Regions from separate parts of the Homo sapiens genome. Here all the other regions are linked to region 3. Evidence: promoter capture Hi-C in human tissues and cell types (Jung and others, 2019). All regions are on one chromosome and are shown on one strand. The core of a region is centred on a gene start or on the middle of the fragment in contact, and the rest is flanking DNA. Distances in the headings are between cores, read along the strand shown. Region 1 overlaps CACNA1E (calcium voltage-gated channel subunit alpha1 E). Region 2 overlaps CACNA1E (calcium voltage-gated channel subunit alpha1 E). Region 3 holds the start of ZNF648 (zinc finger protein 648).

The links. The method cuts DNA at HindIII sites, captures the fragments that hold promoters and counts their contacts. A contact is called where the count stands out against the background at its distance.
Region 1: a fragment that was not itself captured here is called in contact with the fragment with the promoter of ZNF648 in region 3 in 1 of the 25 tissues and cell types used here (H1 embryonic stem cells).
Region 2: a fragment that was not itself captured here is called in contact with the fragment with the promoter of ZNF648 in region 3 in 1 of the 25 tissues and cell types used here (stomach).

What each region holds. Positions count from the first base shown.
Region 1 is chr1:181,738,232-181,740,931 of GRCh38, forward strand. CACNA1E (calcium voltage-gated channel subunit alpha1 E) reads left to right here. Exons shown (of 48, transcript NM_001205293.3): 24 at 136-195; 25 at 916-1,022. Among named protein-coding and RNA genes, the nearest start is that of CACNA1E, 260 kb to the left of the region's middle. The HindIII fragment of the contact is 3,560 bases long and covers 1-2,700 here.
Region 2 is chr1:181,758,143-181,760,842 of GRCh38, forward strand. CACNA1E (calcium voltage-gated channel subunit alpha1 E) reads left to right here. Exons shown (of 48, transcript NM_001205293.3): 32 at 616-726. Among named protein-coding and RNA genes, the nearest start is that of CACNA1E, 280 kb to the left of the region's middle. The HindIII fragment of the contact is 4,258 bases long and covers 1-2,700 here.
Region 3 is chr1:182,060,327-182,063,026 of GRCh38, forward strand. It overlaps ZNF648 (zinc finger protein 648), which reads right to left and starts at 1,386. Exons shown (of 2, transcript NM_001009992.1): 1 at 1,242-1,386. The HindIII fragment of the contact is 24,066 bases long and covers 1-2,700 here.

The DNA.
Region 1 (2,700 bases), core at 150-2,649, 320 kb before region 3:
GCCTTTGTTCTGAGGGTGCAGTGGGTGAGGGCCAGGGTGGGCGTGCACGAGTGCATGTGTCCTGGCAGGTGGGAGCTCATGTAGTAGCCTGTTGGCCACACATGGTCATTTCCTTCCACCATATGTGTCTTTCAGGTCCTGAGGTATTTTGACTATGTGTTCACGGGCGTGTTCACCTTTGAGATGGTTATAAAGGTAAAAACTTCTAGAGAAAACCTGGGCTCTTGGGTTTAGATGGGTCACCTGTCTGCTCCTTAGGCTAGAGCCCTTCCTCAGTGTTACCACCTACCAGCCAATGGCAGCCCTCAGTAGAGCTTCTGCCGCCCCTTCTCTGGCCTCAGAATCCTGAAGAAATCTGTCTCAGCAAGACACGGCTGCGTGGATGTGTTTGTACTGCTGCAGGCCTGTGGACATGGCCCAAGTAGGAGGCAGGCAACAGATGTGCAGACAGGGTTGGGGCCTGCACTCCCCTCCCCAGTGCTTGTCTTGGCTGAGCCTGGGTGTGTGCCAAGGCAAAGGGCTAGGTAGAGATGAGTCTTCCTGGGCTTCATCTAGTCCCAGCCACCACAACACTCCATAGTCTGTCTTGTTCCCAGCCTCATCCATCCAGGATTTTACCCATCTGTGCATATGTGGCAATGCCCAGTGCTCTGAGCCATAAATGAAAGGAGGAATGTGTCAGGGTTCTGTGACAACCAAGGAGTCTAGTGAACCCTGGGTGACTATGAGATGGGGGCCTCAGGACTCAGTTATGTGGAGAAAGCCTGCTGGACCTAACCTCTCATTCTCCAGGTCCTAGCATAGGGTTGGTTGTGGAGACAGTGGCAGTGGGGGCACTGCCATGATGAACAGAGCTCAGGTCAAGTGTTGCCCACACTTTCTTGGCTCACTGTGGCTGTTCATATCCTTCTGCAGATGATAGACCAAGGCTTGATCCTGCAGGATGGGTCCTACTTCCGAGACTTGTGGAACATCCTGGACTTTGTGGTGGTCGTTGGCGCATTGGTGGCCTTTGCTCTGGCGTAAGTGACTCTTTTCATATTTGATTCCCTTCCTTCCCCTCTTCCTGGAGACTCCAGTTGATTTGAAGCCCTTTCCAGAAATGCAACATGCAGGGTGATGCCAAAGAATGCCCCCGCTGGAAATCTGCTCCCCAGTCGCCCCCAGCAGAGCTCCTGAGCGCCTTGCAGCTCCAGCTCACGTGACCTGAGTGGCAGAACGGGGGAAGCAGGAGTAGGGAGCGTCAGGAGGGAGAAGTCAGAGGCCCTAGGAATTCCTTTCCTAGAGATGAGTAAGCATGGGCAGGCACTCACAGTGTGGACAGTGTTTCCATGCATTCAGCAATGGACCCAGGAACAGCTTATGGGCCCTTTCTTTCTTGAGTGTGTCAATCAAGGAAGCAGCTTGAAAGAAAGATGCAGAGGGTAGAGCAAAGTTGAGGATCACGGAATCCTAGGCATGGTGAGGTTTTCTATTCATAGCAGGTGTAAACGAGAGCTCTTCCAGGGATGCCAGAACCATGCTTTTGCACAAACCTAATAATATGTGTAATCTCCAAAAGGAAAGGCTTTCCAAACTTTCCTTGATAACATACCTAGGAAAACAGTCTTAAACCATTCAGGCAACAAAATCATGTTCATAATATTTGTGGGATTTTTTTCCCCCCTGCACATGGATCCAGCTCTAGCCAGTTTTCAATCACATTCTGACATTTCCTGTGGAATCTAGCCAAGGAAAGGGCTCTTCTAGCCCTCCTGGGATTAACTAGGAAATGGGATGCTTTCAGGGCCTTTTTCCTAACCCGGTGTATAGAGTGTCCCAGTAGGATGAATGACAGCCTCAGGGCTCTGTCTGTACCTTGTTCACCCTGAGCAGCTTCAGCCTCTTCCAGGAGGCACAACAGAATTCTCAGAGCCATCCCTCAAGTCTCTCTGAGTACAAGTGGAAGCCTCATCTTTAGGCTAAGCAAGGCTAGCTACACTGTGTAGTGAGGCAGGAGAGCTTTCAGGAGCTTCTGTCATTGATGGCAGCTGCAAAAGGAACACAGTATCTTCATACGTTTACCCTTCTGAGTGGTTTTCCCTCCAAGGGTTTGCCCTTCCAAGTGTTTAGAAAGAGATCACCCTTGGAAGGGTTTGCCCTTCTAAATGTTTAGAAACACAGGGAAGCTGACAGTGCTTCTCCCCAAGCTTCTCTTCAAGCACTGTCAGCTGCTGTCTCTTATCCTTTCTGGCAGAAAAACAGGTGGGATAAAAATTACCAGATGTTTCTCAAGTGGCCTGGTGGGGGTGGGGATAGTGGAGGGCTCTCTCTCTCTTAAGGAGAGGTACAAGATACACTCCCAGCTGTGCTAGGAGTGTAGGATCTCCCAGACCCTGGAACTGGACTGTGTCCACTGCTTCCTCAGCCATGAGAGACCCTTCAAAAGAAAACCACATTGAGCATAGTTTGTGACTCTAAAATGGGCTGGTGATCAAGGTAATTCCAGTGTCCCTTGTCCCCTTGTGCACATGTTAATTCCATTGTGTGCAGTCACCTTTGTCCCCCACAAAAAGAAAGCTTTCTGTCACATGTGGCTGGACTGTTCTTGAGGAAATTTTACAGAAGCATGGGGTATTTTCTCAAGCATCTGGGCCCTGTCTGGATTCTCATGGTGCAATGAAAGGAAAGGCAGCTCTGGCTCCAAAAGAGGGACTTCCA
Region 2 (2,700 bases), core at 1-2,500, 300 kb before region 3:
GCCCCAGCGATGGTTCCCTCCCAGGGCAAGTGGGAAGACACCCCAACATCCCAGCCCATCACTGCTTTACCTACTTTTCCATCATTGAATCCTTTTGTGATCTTATTTTGTTCAATAACCCAACCTCTGGGGCTTTGGGGGTCCACTGAGCAAAATGCAGTGCAGACTATAGTAGCCATCCAGGGGCTCCCAAGACCTGAGATGGCAATGGGAGGCAGCTTCAGACAAGGGTGGAAAAATCAGGAGACAGAGATCCATCATCACGGGGTCTAAAGGAGCCTTGGAGTATTCAGAGAGGCTCATCCTATTTAATATTAAATGACTAACTCCAGTAACTAACTCTAGAAAATGTTTCTTCCCTGCCCACCCTCATCTCTAGGAAGACTGGCTGTTTTGCTATTAAGTCTGGTGGGGCGTGGGTCTGTGTTTTCCTTTGTTTTGTTGGGTAGAATATGTGGTTCTCCTCTCCAGCACTCGAAGTCCATCTCTCCTCCTGTACCACACACCAGAGTGTCCCACAGGGCAGGAATGAGAGATGGCCAACCTCAGTGACATGTATTCCCCCTCTTACCTTAAGGCTGTGATTCTTTCTCTCTTCTTTTTTCTTCCTGGCAGTATTATTCTGCTCCCTGTACCTATGAGCTGGCCCTGAAGTACCTGAATATCGCCTTCACCATGGTGTTTTCCCTGGAATGTGTCCTGAAGGTCATCGCTTTTGGCTTTTTGGTATGTTGCTGAATCCTTCCCAGCACTGGGCTTGTCTCTTTCTGTTGGGTGCCTTCCCAGTCTTTGTTGAAGGGGAGGTGGTTACTGCTATTCCAGAAATCACCCACCTAGATGTGGGCTCGTTTTGACTGCTCAGTAAACTGCCGTAGAGACAAGATGATGTGTGAGGAAGCTGGGAGAAAGGGCAAAGGAAGCCACAGCCATCAGCCTGGTCCTGTGAAATTCTGTCAGCAGTCCAGAGGCGGCCATCATTGAGTTTCACTAGAACTGCAATTTATGTGTAGATGAAGGAGGAAGCCAAAGATTGGACTAATAAACTTCGAGTGCTTATTTACTGGTAAAAGGTATAACAGTTTTATAACACAAATGGGAAAATAACTATCTCTCTTAGCCTCAAACATAGCAAATAATAGATTTTTACCTATTAGTCCTTCTGCCATTAGTAACATGAAGAGTAATTTCTGCCAAAGAAAATAGGTGTTTATTACTTATGCCTATAAAGGCTAATGACCTTTAAGGGGTGTGTCTGTGTGTGTGTGTGTGTGTGTGTGTGTGTGTATGGAGTGCAAGGGGAAGGATTCTGGAATTAAGTTTGAGGAGGTTTGGGGATGATGAATTTTTCTGCCATGAGCCCTCTTTTTTCTTCTCCTCAACTACTATTAATAATTATAATTGTTGGGCAAATTCTTGCATCTGTCCTCAAGAGTGTTAAGAAAATCCAGCCCTTGGCTTCAGTGCCCTATAAACAAGATAATCCCCTTGGCCACCCTCCCCCCAACCTGCTTCATTGTGTGCAGCAAGTTCAGTGGGATGCAAGCCCATGTGACAGCTGTTTCACACTTACTTAGGACGTGAGCTACCATTTCAAATTACATGTGTGTATGGCTTTCCCTGCAAGGAGGAGAACTTTGCTCATTATCTGAATAAGTGTTTGTCTGGTAGCAGCTTTAACAGAGACTCTGGGCTGGGTTCGATAATTGTGAGTGTTGATTACGGGGGCTGCTTTTGGTCTCCCAGCGGTTCTTTGAAAAACCATTAATTTGATCATTTTGGGTGGAGAGTTTAAGGGAACCAATTGCAGTTGGCTGCATTGTGTTTGCCTGGCTCCCTTTTGAGTGTTTTGAGACTTGGGGAAATAAAAAAGTAAAAGAAACTACTACCAACAAAGATGCCTTTATAATACAGTCTAGCCCTGAGCAGGGGGAGCTGAGAGAGAGGGAGACGCAAGCACCACAACAGGGAAATTTTTTCTATGCATGTTGATTACTTGTATGTGGTATTGACATTGTCTGTGACTTAAGTCCCATTATGTGTCTAATTATGGTGAGTGCTGAATATATACTCACAGCCTTAACTAGATTCGGCCCTTGAAGCCTGCCTCCTTCCCACCCTACCCCCATGTTTTCATTCAAGGTCTAGAGGGATTTTCACTCTGTAAAAGGTACCACTAATTCTGATAAGTCTTTACATTGTTAAGGCACTCTAAGCTTTCAGAATATTGTAATATATACTATTTCGTTAGATCTTCTCAGTGACTCTGAAATAGGCATGGCAGATGTCACTATCATAATTGCCATTATTGTTGTTGTTATTTTAAATGAGGAAATTGAAGTTCAGAAAAATTGTATAGCTTCTTAAAGATTACACAATGAAAGGCAATAGAATTGCAAGGCTAAATGGGAATAAAAAGGGAAGGGAAAAAGAAAAAGAGGGAAAGATGTAACAACAATTGGTTGGCTATTAAGTACCAAATGCTTTACATATTGCTTTTCTCTCCATAACAATATATTAAATAAGCATTCTTATTTTCTCCTTTTTATGGATGAGCTGGAGCTCAGAAAGGTTGAATACTTTGGCCAAGATTAGTAAGAGGTAGGGCCAGGATTCAGACCCTGTTCTATCTGACTTCAAAGCTCACAATAATCTAGTCTACACTGCACTGTACTATTCTATACCATATACCAGTGTTCTAGT
Region 3 (2,700 bases), core at 136-2,635:
GGATAAAAGGAGTGATCTTTGTATTTGGCTGGTACAGTTAACCCTATCCCCATCTCATTAAACTGTTCTTCCCTGGTTTCTGCCTGATCATGAGCCCAGTTACCCTGTGTGTATGAAGAGGGAGCAGTATGGAGGAATCCTCACTTTCTGCTCTGGATACAGAAGCCATGGATGGAGGGAGGACACATTGCAGTTGTGACTGGAATTCAGCATCTCACGTCTCTTTGTGCCCTAAAGCCCAGGGACCACTCCTCTTCTCTCACTGCTTCCCTCACCCATCACATGGCAGAGGGTAGCTGGCATGCCTTTTGACAGGAGCCCAGATCTGACATATTTTCAGCATAGTGGATCTTAGGGAGTGAATGTGTAGTTCATAGAGGGGACATACCACTAGCCAACCTCATAGAACTTGCTCAGACCAGCAGGCTTGATCCGGGGCTGTAGGTCCCCCAGCAGGGACAGCAAAGGGATGCTGGATTTGTATGAAACACATGTCTTAGGTCTCTTTCCCTCTTTACGACAACATACTGCCTGTTTCTGTGGCACTGTTCACAGATCACTGACTTTACCCGCTCCCCACCCCACCTCCAGCACAAATACCCCATTTTCCACAGTCTGTGTGTCATTCTTTTCCTCTGGGCCACAGGGGAGCCTCCTTAGGGTGGCACACAGCCCTCCACTAGCTAACCAATCTCCTCTCCAGAGCCCGTCAGGAGACTCTCTTTTCAGATGAGGTATCCCTCCTCCATCTGAAGCCATATCCCCAGTGAATATGTCCTGCTTTCTTCCTCCTGTCGCTGCCACACGCATGCTCTCGACCACCAGGAAGACCTGGAGGCAGGCAGGGGCACAGGGAGGGATTTTCTGGCAAAGTCTGCACAAATATACCTGGTCTGAAAGAGGAACACTGATGCCATGGTATGGCGGGCCTCTCTGCTCCCCAGATGTGCTAGTCCCCAGAGGCTGTCAGAGCAGTCCTTTGCTGGAACTTCCTCTGCACTTGCCAGCCAAGAGTGGACCAAATGCAGCCTTTGACTCCCCAACCTCATACATCCATCAACACTCTGCAGAAGCCTACCCTAAGGGCTTGTTGCAACCCCAGCCCATACCCCTCTTCTTTCCTTCATTCTTTCCAGATTGTACTGAAGTCCATCCTAGGCAGCCGCCTCCTACTTTCTTCTCTGCTCACCGCCTTCAGGCCTTGCTCTCCACTCCTGGCTCACACACAGACGGTTGCTTACCTGGGAAATGCAGACAGCAGTGTGGGGCCTCTGCCCTGGCTTCTGTGACACGTGGGCTCTCAGCAACAGGAACCAGTTAGGTACAAATCAGCAGAGATGGTGTCTCTGTCTCTCACGCTTTGTGTCCAGTCCAGCGGCTGCAGAGAGAGCCTCTGGAGGTGGGGCCAGTGTAATACACTCAACCTTCCTGCCTGCATCCAGAGAGCAGCCTGGGAAATAGAGTGGGGCTGCCCTCTCTCACTGCCTGAACCGATCCTCTGGCTCCCTCTGCTCCTGCCTCCCCTCCCTGCCAAAGCCAGCCTTCCTCCTTCCCTCCTCTCAGTCTTCCTGCAGGTGGCCCTATGCCTCTTGTTCACTTTCACTCCTTCCTTCCACAGAGCAGTCCATCCTTCACTTTAGCCCTGGTATGCCCATGGGCCACATGTCACTTGTGAGCTTCCTGGGTAGCATGCTTTTTCCCTCCTGGAAGGCAGAACAGAGTATTTGGCCTATATGCCCACCTCCCTATTCTAGTACCCACCTTTTGCAGGACTGTGAGTTGCAGAACTGTGAGGGGTTGGGATTCCCAGAATTCTTTGTAGCAGCCCATTCATTGGCTCAAAGATGCCCACAGCCTTTTAACTGGGAGTAGGGGTGCAGGGAGATGGTTTTCTGTCTTATGCATACAGATGCCAGGCCTGTCTGGGGTCTCTTTCCACTTTCAGCATTGATTCCCATGCAGGTTCATTTTGAAGAGAAGGATTGGCCCAAGGTAGAAGACTCAGTACATTCAGAATTTTTACCCACTCAAGTCTAATGTGCATTTATTAGGATGAACATTCAGGGCATTAAAATAGGTGATGGAAGTGTGGTTCCTGTGATGTCACTAGGTGGTCACAAAGTATACTGATTGACAGCACGGTCTGGGTCTGGGTTTGAATCTTACTACTTACTAGCTGTGTGATCTTGGGCAAGTTATTTAACCTCTGTGTGCCTTAGTGTCTCATCTGCAAAACAGGGACCAGGATACTATTGCCATCATGGAAGTTTGGGGAGTATTAAATGAGATAATGCATGTAAGGAGCTTAGTTCGGTGTTTGGAACATAGCAAGTACCCAAAAACGTTAGCTGCTTTCATTGTTATTATTGACGATTTTTAAAAATTTTAAGTTCCGGGATACATGTGCAGGATATGCAGGTTTGTTACATAGGTAAACATGTGCCATGCTGGTTTGCTGCACCTATCAACCCTTCCTTCACCTAGGTATTAAGCCCGGCATGCATTAGCTATTTTTCCTGATGCTCTCTCCACCCCGCACTCCCCCAACTGGCCCCAATATGTGTTGTTCCCCTCCCTGTGTCCATGTGTTCTCACTGTTCAGCTCCCATTTATAAGTGAGAACATGCGGTGTTTGGTTTTCTGTTCCTTTGCCAGTTTGCTGAGGATAATGCCTCCAGCTCCATCCCTGTCCCTGCAAAG